2 separate regions of the Homo sapiens genome follow, and region 2 is linked to region 1. The links are contacts of gene promoters, found by promoter capture Hi-C in blood cells and fetal thymus (Javierre and others, 2016). All regions are on one chromosome and are shown on one strand. Each heading gives the region's core, a stretch centred on a gene start or on the middle of the fragment in contact. The rest is flanking DNA. Distances are from core to core; before and after follow the strand shown.

Region 1 (5,174 bases), core at 1,621-4,120:
AGCTGGGATTACAAGCATCCACCACCATGCCTGGCTAATTTTGTATTTTTAGTAGAGACAGGGTTTCTCCATGTTGGTCAGACTGGTCTTGAACTCCTGACCTCAGGTGATCCACCCGCCTCGGGCTCCTAAAGTGCTGGCATTATAAGCGTTGAGCCACTGTGCCTGGCCTGTTTTTTTATTTTTTTTTTTTTGAGAGCAATTATATGGTTTTAAGCAAAGGAAAGACACAATCTGACTTCTGTTTCAAAGGATTACCCTGGTTGCTATGTTGAAAAAAGACTTTAGGGGCAAGGTGAAAACGGAAACCTGTTAGGAGTCTATTGCAATAATCCAGGTGAAAGCTGATGGTGGCTCAAACCAGAAAGGTGGTCAGGCTCTGGATATATTTTGAAAGTACAGGCAACAAGACTTCCTGATGGCTGAAAAGGGTATGTAAGACAGTCAAAGTATTTAAATAAAATATGTGTAATCTTTAATTGAGATAAGGAAGACTATAGATGGTGCAGCATTGGGAGGGGAAGTCAGAAGTTCAGTTTTGGACATGTGAAATTTGAGATGTCTATTACTGGAAATATTAAACAGCAATTGGTTATACCAGTTTGGAGTTCAGGGGAAAGGCCAGGGCTGTAGATAGATATTTGGAATTTGTCAGCACATGGATGATATCTAACACTATGAGTTAAGGAGGACACCAAAGTAACAAATATACCCAGAGAAGAAAAGAGGTCCAAGGACTGAGCTTGCGGCACTCCAAGCAAGATTAAAAGGTTGGGTTTTGAGGAAGAACCAATAAGGATGCTGATAAATGGCCAGTGAGGCTGGAGGGAAACCATGAGAGCATGATATGGGGAAGCCAAGGAAAGAAAGTTTTTCCAGGAGGAGGGAATGATCAACTGTAACAAGTACTGCTGATTGACCAAGTAAAATTAGTATTGACAGCTGTTTGCTGGATTTACCAATGACTTTGACATGAGCAATTTCTGTGGTATGGTGGAAATGAAAAAGTCTGATTGGAATAAATTTGATAAAGAATGGGAAAAAAGGGCATTAGCAACAGAAATTATAGACAATCCTTTTGAGTTTTTCTGTAAAGAGAGCAGAGAAATGGATTGTTAGCTGGTGTGGGAGAGGAGATTAAGAGATTTTAAGATGAGAGAAATAATGGCATATTTATTTGCTATTGAGACTATTCAGTGGAGAGGAGAAAATTGAAGATTGTAAGAGTCAGGAAATAATTGGTGGATATATATATATATATATATATATATATATTTTTTTTTTTTTGAGACAGTTTTGCTCTGTTGTTCAGGCTGGAGTGCAGTGGCATGATCTTGGCTCACTACAACCTCTGCCTCCCAGGTTCAAGCAATTCTCCTGCCTCAGCCTCCCAAGTAGCTGGGACTACAGGTGTGCACCACCACACCTGGCTAATTTTTTGTATTTTTAGTAGAGATGAGGTTTTGCCATATTGGCCAGGCTGATCTTGATCTCCTGACCTTGTGATTCACCTGCCTCAGCCTCCCAAAGGGCTGGGATTACAGGCGTGAGCCACCGCGACTGGCCGGTGGAGCTATATTCTTGGGTAAGCAAGAAGAGATGGGCTCTGTTGTCCATTTGAGGGCTGGCCTTACATAGGATTATACAGTTCACCTACTATAGTTGGAAAGAAAGCAGAATCTGGCATATAGATGTTGGTAGATTGGTAGGTGGACATCTGTGGAACTTCGTTTCTGGATGCTTTTATTTATCTCATTTGAATAGTATTTAATATTAAATACTAAATACTATTAAAATCATAAATCTTTATGAAATATTAGCAGTAACTATTTCACTTCAGCCGAAAATGAAGATGAGGAATAAGTTCTGGAGATTTGAAGAGAGGAGGAATTGTCTTAGTCCATTATGGCCACGATAACAAAATACCTTAGACCAGGTAATTTATAAACAAGAGGCCAGGTGTGGTGGCTTAACAAACTGCCCAAATGAGGCAGCAAGAGTGCACCTAATTTTAATATCAGTTATACAAAATGCCAAACATACAAAATGGTTATCACAGGGAAAAATTAACAGCACATCACAAGTGTGCTCCAAAGGATTTTTCCTGGAGCACCTTTCTTTCTACAGGAATACCTGTTTTACAAAGTAAGGCACATAGTTTTGTATCCTAACCATTAGGCTCAAGGCAAGTAGTGGTCTTTGTCTTTTTACATTTTTATGATTGTGACACTTAATAAATTGCTGAGCTTCAATTAGGTCTGAACATAATGGGGTCCTAAAAAGCAAACACACAGGCCCCTGTATGTCCTTTTGACAGCTGCTCATGAAAATCTACCTTTTTCATAATTTGGATAAACTGAAGGCCACTTTGATTTTATGTTGCAAATGACAGAAATCTAAGAATTGAGCCTGAATTTTAGAAAACTGTGAAAATCAATTCCGGACAACTGAGTCTAACACGCAAAAATCTTGTTTTTTTTTTTTTTTTTTTTTTGAGACGGAGTCTTGCCCTGTCACCCAGGCTGGAGTGCAGTGGTGCGATCTCGCTCACTGCAACCTCCGCCTCCTGGGTTCAAGCGATTCTCCTGCCCCAGCCTCTCGAGTAGCTGGGATTACAGGTGCGCGCCTCCATGCCCAGCTAATTTTTGCATTTTTAGTAGAGACGGGGTTTCACCATGTTGGTACGCTGGTCTCAAACTTCTGACCTCGTGATCCGCCCACCTCGGCCTCCCAAAGTGCTGGGATTAGTGGCATGAGCCACCGCGCCAGGCCTACAAATCTTGTATCTTCTTAACCACTTCCGGCTTCCTGCAAACCTCGCTCTAGGGAGCCAGAAGCGCGGAAAAGGTTTGCGGGGTCTGCGGTTGCGCAGAAGCCCAGCGACTGCAGAACCCTGCCCCAGGCACCCTGGGCGCTCTGCCCTACCGGCGGCGCCTCTCACTGCTCACGGAACGTTCTGGAAGTTTGGGAAACCCTGAGCGGTCTCTGAGGACCTGGTGAGCAGGTGGGTTTGCAGCGCTGGGGATGAGGCCTCGGCAGACCTGTCTCTTCGCGTTTTTCTTTCTTCGTTCTTCGCCGGCGTAGTGCTCTCTGACTTGCCGAGCTCAGAGCTTTACCTCAGGGCTTTGGCGGGTGAGGGGAGGAGATCCTGCCCACCCTATTTTCCCCTTGAGAATCGGTGTGGAAAGGGCTCCCTCGGGGTTTTCCCTGTCAGAAGTCCGTCACCCACCTGCGAGTGTAAATTTTATTTGCTTTAGGCTTTGTTGGTCACTCCGAAAAGTAAAGAATGGAAGAGACCGTGAAGATCCTTGTAGGCCGGCGCCTCACTGGACCCGTGAGGAGACTGAGCAGGGAAAGTGACTTGCTGGAGATGATGGGGCAGTGTTAAACTTAAATTTGCAAACACTCCAGAGCTTGGAAAAAACAAAACAGTAGCAACAAAAGCCCAGAATACCAGGGCCTTGGAACTGGCAAAGGTTTAAGAGGCCACTGGGCCCACGCTTTTTGTTTTTATTTTTAATTTAACTTTTATGTTAGGTTCAGGAGTCCGTGTGCAGGTGTGTTACATAGGTTAAACTCGTGTCACGGGAGTTTGTTGTCCAGATTCTGTCGTCCCCCAGGTGCCCATTAGTGACTGTCCCTCCTCCACCTTCTGGTCCCCCGGTCCCGTCCCCCGCGCCTGCCCCTCCCCTCTGTCCCTGCACGCTCAGCGTTCACCTCCCGTTTAGAAGCTTTTTGTTTTCAGGTGAGGATGCAGCCTAACCAGAGGTGACGTGATTTGCCCAAAGCCACACAGTCCTTGCTTGGCTGCTGGTCGAGGAGCTTTTCCCCAGAAATGCTGAGAAGGCACTGCCCCAGCCCCAGGTTTCTGATTCATTCCTCACCTTTAACAGGGACTTGGGACACGACTGACCCCACTCCTTTCTCACTTATTGTGCACGTGATTACTTTACTTCTCTTAGCTTTAGTTAAATTGTTTTTAAAACCTATGTATAAGGGTGTAAAGATTTAAATGAACATTTATGGATTACTAACTGATAGGCACAAACATACATATCCACATACATACCAGTAACTACTCCAAAAAGTTCTTGTAACCTTTGCATATATGTATTCATAGCTATGTGGGTGTATTAGTAAGTATGTGTAGGGGGGGTTATAGAAGTTGAAGCCCTTCCCCCAGCCAACTCACCATTTACTCATTCACAAATCTTTGAGTGTCTACTGAGTGCCAGGTGCTGAGTAAGGTAAAACAGAATCAGAATGTGTCCCTGCTCTCATGGAGCTAGTTAACTTCTCATTCATTCATTCATGCAATAAATGAGGAAATTAGAGAGCAGCTGGTTTCAACTCAGCAGGAAGAACTTTCTAATTATTAAAGTTGTTGAAAAGTAGAATGAAATCACCTTGGGAGATACTAACTTACCATCACTGAAAGTGACTTTCTCTTTCTTTTTTTTTTTTTTTTTTTTTTTTTAAGACAGAGTCTCGCTCTATCACCCACGCTGGAGTGCAGGAATGGGATCTCAGGTCACTGCAACCTCCACCTCCTGGGTGTGCAGCCACACCTAAGGAATGGGGAGTTATATTCCCCACCCCCACTGTTTAATATTTTTAGAGACAGGGTCTTGCTATGTTGCCCAGGCTGGAGTACAGTTGTTATTTACAGGTGCAAACATAATGCACTGCAGCCTCAAACTCTTGGCCTTAAGCAATCCTCCTGCTTCAGTCTCCCGAGTAGCTTGAATTATAGGTGTGTGCCACTGTGCCCAGCTCCATGCTCCTGTTCTTAAGGTTGGAGTATATATACATAAATTTTTTGGAATTATTCTGCACAGATTTGTCTCTTCTCCATTTATTGGTTTGTTCAAACCTTTATATCAGTATAGACTCATGGATATTCACTTTATACTTTGGATTATAATGCTATTTTATTTTGCTCAAATTGTTCCAGCTTTAGCCATTGGGAGCTCTTTCAGTTGGTTCCTGTGCTCTTATGACATGCCCCATCAATGCCATCTGTGTGGGGTTTTTTTGTTTGTTTGTTTTTGTTTTTAAGTACTTTCTTTTTGGCACTACTCTGGACTCATCTTGTATGTTTCCTGTCCCAGTCCTAGAATCGACCATTTCTCCAAGGAGCCCTGGTTCCTTTTTTGGAGAATGCTATTTAGAAA
Region 2 (5,174 bases), core at 1,602-4,101, 220 kb before region 1:
TCAATGGTAGAGAAAAAGAAAAAATAGTGTAATAAAAGCCCAGGAAGATAGATTTTTTTTTTAGAAGGAAATCAAAAGTATCACATACTGCAGAGCATTTAAGTAGGATGAGGAATGGAGAGAGAGCATTACATTGGGAATGTGAGAATTTTTACTTTTGCGGAAGCTTTTTTAGTACCTGTTGTGATGGGGCAGAAACCAGATTGTTGTAAATTGAGAAGTAATGGAATTTGAGTGTAGTGAATGTAAAGCATTCTTTGAAGAACTTTGTTGGTAAAGAGGATGGAAAGATATTTGTGGCTTTAACAGGAAAATAGATTTTTTGGAGGAGTGGGCAAGATTATTTTGAGTTTTTTAATTGGAGGGATTTGAACATTTGAAGGCTCATTATAAAGAGCTAAAGTAGGAAAAAGTTACTCTTTTAACTAGAGTATGTTTTATAAGAATGCTAGGGTAGCCTTGCCCTTGAAAAGGAATAGATTATGAAAAACAAAGGTGAGAATGTAGTCAAGGTGTTCTCTTATTCCTAATTTAAGAAAACACCCTATCTATGAAAAGTCAGGCTTTTAATACCTACACCTTCAGTAAGGATCAGTTTATTATATTACTTGAAATTCTGTTTATATGATGCCTATTAGTAAGCTAATATATAAAGGAAAGTTTGGATGATGCCAGAGTAGCTGTTCTTTTGCAGTTAGCAAGATTCTCAGAAACAACATGGTTTACATTTGCCAACTGTAGGTGGCACTATGCCCAAGGGAAATTGCAAATGTATGTGAGCCATAAAATTTATAGAGACATTTTCTTTTTCTGGAGTTAAATCTCAATAGAAATAAATTTTTTGTTAAACCTTACAATTAAATGATAAAAGCAATATGTTGAAGTTTTCTTATTGGAAAAATAGTTTGACAAAATGTTAGAGTACATAAAAGATTAAAAAATGAATTTTTAAGTGTTACTGGTTTTCATCACACCTGCCCACATATGATCTCCACATGAAATGGACAATGTTGAATTTTTTTTCCTTATAAGTTGAAGCTTTTAGCCATACCCTTATCCTTATAGTTTACCCTTTCCCCTTCTCATAAAAACTTCACTAAATTGCCGCCATGAAAAGGGATGAGTTCATGTCCTTTGCAGGGACATGGATGAAGCTGGAAACCATCATCCTCAGCAAACTAATACAAGAACAGAAAACCAAACACTGCATGTTCTCACTCATAAGTGGGAGTTGAACACTGAGAGCACATGGACACAGGGAGGGGAACATCACACACTGGGGCCTGTTGGGGGATGGGGGGCTAGCAGAGGGGTAGCATTAGGAAAAATACCTAATGTAGATGACAGGTTGATGGGTACAGCAAACCACTATGGCACGTGTAACAAACCTGCACATTCTGCGCATGTATCCCAGAACTTAAAGTATAATAAAAAAATTTTTTTAAACTTCACCAAATTATATTGAGTTTTTAAAATATTTAGGCTGTTATATAAACATGAATTCATAATTGCAAATGAAAAAGTAAATCCAGGAGTTTGCTATCTCATAGGAGAAATAAACAACTGGTATATAAAGTAAAAATAATGTGCCCTGAAAGAACCTAAAGTGAAGTTTAAGGAGGTGAAGAAGGCAGAATCACCTGATGTGTTTGGCAGATACATATTTTACAGAATGAGTATCATTTGAGCTGGATAGTGCAGAAAAAAAATAAGGCTTACCTATGTTTATTTAGTATGGAAAGGCATTTGGATGGAGGAAGCAACATGAATGTGAAGGTATTTAGGCAACTCATAATTCCATGTGATTAAAGATTTGGTTGGATTAAACAGGAATGTGGAAAATTACAAAGGTAGACCAGGTTTAGATCATTTAACCCTTTAGATACTTTGGACTTAATTATAATAGCATAGTCAGTGGGGAGGCAATGAAGGTTTTTTTGAGTGAAGGTGTGCCTCTGAGTGATTAATTTGCCAATATTATTTAGGTGAGTTGAAGGAAAGGAGAATATAGAGACCAGAGAAGGGAAGGAGACCAGCTGGGCTGTTGCAGTAGTAGGGAAAAAATGACATAAAGTGATAGAAGGAAAGAGAAGGGGAAAGTTAAAAGAAATTGCAAGAGTAGAATGGGCAGGTCTGCAAAATATGAAAACATGCTGGGTTAATAACCCAGGGATATAAGCTTCGGTGGCTCACAGGATACTGGCTGGATACTGTCCAGGTTGACAGACCCGGGACACAAGATGAAGAATAGGCTTCTGAGGAAAGATGAGTTTTGTAGTCTTTTGAGGTATCACAGGGTCATTCATGTAAAAATATTTTTCAGAGAGTTGGACCCTTGACATACTTCCTAGGCTTTTATGACACCTCTCTTAACAATCCCATCTGTCTGTTCCTTACAGATATCTCTTTATTTGCCTCCCTTTAGATGTTGATAATTCTCTGAATTGCATCCTTAAGCCTCTCTGTTTTTTTCATCTACCCCAGAATTTCCCAACCATGTTTCAAAGCACAGTCTTACTGAATGAATGTCCCCTCAGCTCTTATAGCAATGAGCTGGGAGCAGCCTTTCCATTTATGCAGGTGGCCATACATTGATCATTTTCTATATATCATGACATGGAAAAGGTTGGAAGCAGTGCTCTATACTTGGGTGATCTTTGGCATCCATGACTTCTAGTCTCATTTTTACAATTCAAATGTATCCAGGCCCCAGGCATGTTTATACAACTCTACTAAATGTCTTTACTTAAACATCACATAGGCATTCCAAACACAGCCATGTAAAAACTGAATTCCCCCTTTTAGTCCTCAGATTGTATTTATTTTTTTGAGACAGTCTGCCTGTGTTGCTCAGGCTGGAGTACAGTGGCGCAAATATGGCTCACTGCAGCCTCAACCGCCTGGGCTCAAGTCATCCTCCTACCTCAGCCTCTCAAGTAGCTGGGACCACAAATGTGTGCCACCATGCCCAGCTAAGTTGTTATTTGTTTGTTTTGTTTGGTAGAGATGGGATCTCACCATGGCTGGTCTCAAACTTCTGGGCTTAAGGAATCCTCCCGCCTTGGCCTCCCAAAGTGCTGGGATTGCAGGCCTGAGCCAGTGCACCCAGTCTGGTCCCCAGATTTTAATCCTTCCTCTTTAATTGTCAATAATGGCACTATCACCACTTACCAACTTAGAGTCAGCAAATTAAGGGTCACTTTAGAATTTCACTTACCATACATACTTTTTCTCCTTCCTAAATAATCACTGACAGGAAGCAGAGAAGGGAAGGCAGTCCTATACTTACAGCTTTTCTCACTATTTTTTCCCTTTCCTTGTTGAAGTGAGGAAACATGGCTACATTGAGGCTGTGTACAGACGTACAAATTAAAAATGTGAGCTTTTGTTCTGCATTCTTTGACAGTGTTTTGTCTTGCCCTCCTATGCTCACTGCTATTCCTTGATGTTCCTTGCTCTCTTCTTCTAACCTCAACCTCAGTATGATTTAGCCAGAGAATCAGTCAAGGGATTGATGGATGGTAGAAGCTTAAATGTAAGTCCCTATAATATGTAAGTGGCCAGGATTTTGTTAGTTTGGGTTAGTTAACAAAGACAGCAGCTCAGTTTTGATTTGTCCCTCTTGTTCTTCAGCCACGAATTAGAACCTGTAGACTATGACTAGAGAGAATTGAATCAAGTGATCAATTAAGTTTCACGCATCAGGATGTTCCATGTTGCAGATGACAGAAAACTCAGCCCAAACTGATTTAATAAAGGAATTTTGTTGGCATACATAAGCAATAGTCCAAAGATAGGTCAATCTTTTAGTCATGGCTTGATAAGGGCTCACACTCTGTAGTTAATCTTCACAATAATAATAAATGAAATATTTGCATGAAAACTTAAGAATTAATGAAATTGCATAGTTTGTTCTCCTCACCTCAGAGTCAGACTTACTGCGTTTCACATCCCTGTTCCCTTGGTAGCTATTTTGAGTGTCTGGTATCTTAGTTTCCCTCTCTGTGTTTTTTTGTCTCCAATTGGCCACCCAGGCAGCATCTTTCCCTTGGAAGCCCTGCACTGGCTTAGGTCTGCTCTTCCTAAATGAGTTACTGATGGTGAGATAGAATTACCAGGATTGGCTTGGCCTTATTAAAACCCACCTCTAGGCTGGGCGCGTAATACCTGAGGATAGTTATTACATTTTAGTCATCCTTACGTTCCCAGTGCTTAGTACATAGTATGTGCTCAGTAAATGTTTAGTGATAACTGGGTTTTATCAGCAGTCTAAATTGCTTTAGATAAGTTATGCTATGGTTTTGAATGTTTGTCCTCTCCAAAACTCATGTTGAAATTTACAGGCCTGGCCAGCCACAATGGCTCATGCCTGTAATCCCAGCACTTTGGGAGGCTGAGGCGGGCAGATCACTGAAGGTCAGGAGTTCAAGTCCAGCCTGGCCAACATGGTAAAACCCCATCTCTACTAAAAATACAAAAATTAACCAGGCATGGTGGTGGGTGCCTGTAATCCCAGCTACTCAGGGGGCTAAAGCAGGGGAATTGCTTGAACCTTGGAGGTGGAGGTTGCAGTGAGCCAAGATTGCACCACTGTACTTCAGCCTAGAGCATCAAAGCAAGACCCTCTCCCCGCAAAAAAAAAAAACACACCTCTGGAGCTGAGGTCAGTCTAAACTGGAGAGCTGCTATAGCATGGGGTCAGATAAAAAGGTTTTGGTGGGTGAGTATGATGTCAGCTATATTTCATGCTGACCAGAACAAGCAAAAATAACAAAAAAAGAGCAAAGTGGTAACTTTCAAATGAGAAATATTTTATAGTATAACAAGTCCCTAACTAAGAATATTCCAAAGTTAAATGATGCATCAAAAAATTAGTCTCTTTGTTTTCATAGTGTCTGACCTGGAAGGAAAAATAAAATCAAATTCTGGGTAAGTAGGATGAAATATTTTAATTATACTATTCTAAAAATGTGTGCATCCAGGTGATTCTGAACAGCTCTCAAATGGCATAACTGTGATGCATCCATCTGGTGATAGTGACACAACGATGTTAGAATCTGAATGTCAAGCTCCTGTACAGAAGGTAAAAGTAATTTTTTTTTTCTAACAAATCTTGAAGGGATTTGAAATTGGGTTTGGAAGTGGTACAAGAGGTATTTAAAAGCCCTGACTTA

What was found. Contacts are between HindIII fragments. The CHiCAGO score rates a contact against its expected background, and 5 or more counts as called.
Region 2: a contact is called between a fragment that was not itself captured here and the fragment with the promoter of C1orf146 in region 1, in 1 of 17 cell types (M1 macrophages). The highest score is 5.7, in M1 macrophages.

Annotation. Positions count from the first base shown.
Region 1 is chr1:92,215,045-92,220,218 of GRCh38, forward strand. It overlaps C1orf146 (chromosome 1 open reading frame 146), which reads left to right and starts at 2,871. Exons shown (of 6, transcript NM_001012425.2): 1 at 2,871-3,004. The HindIII fragment of the contact is 5,529 bases long and covers 1-3,729 here.
Region 2 is chr1:91,997,067-92,002,240 of GRCh38, forward strand. It overlaps BRDT (bromodomain testis associated), which reads left to right. Exons shown (of 19, transcript NM_207189.4): 16 at 4,983-5,083. Among named protein-coding and RNA genes, the nearest start is that of EPHX4, 30 kb to the right of the region's middle. The HindIII fragment of the contact is 1,349 bases long and covers 2,178-3,526 here.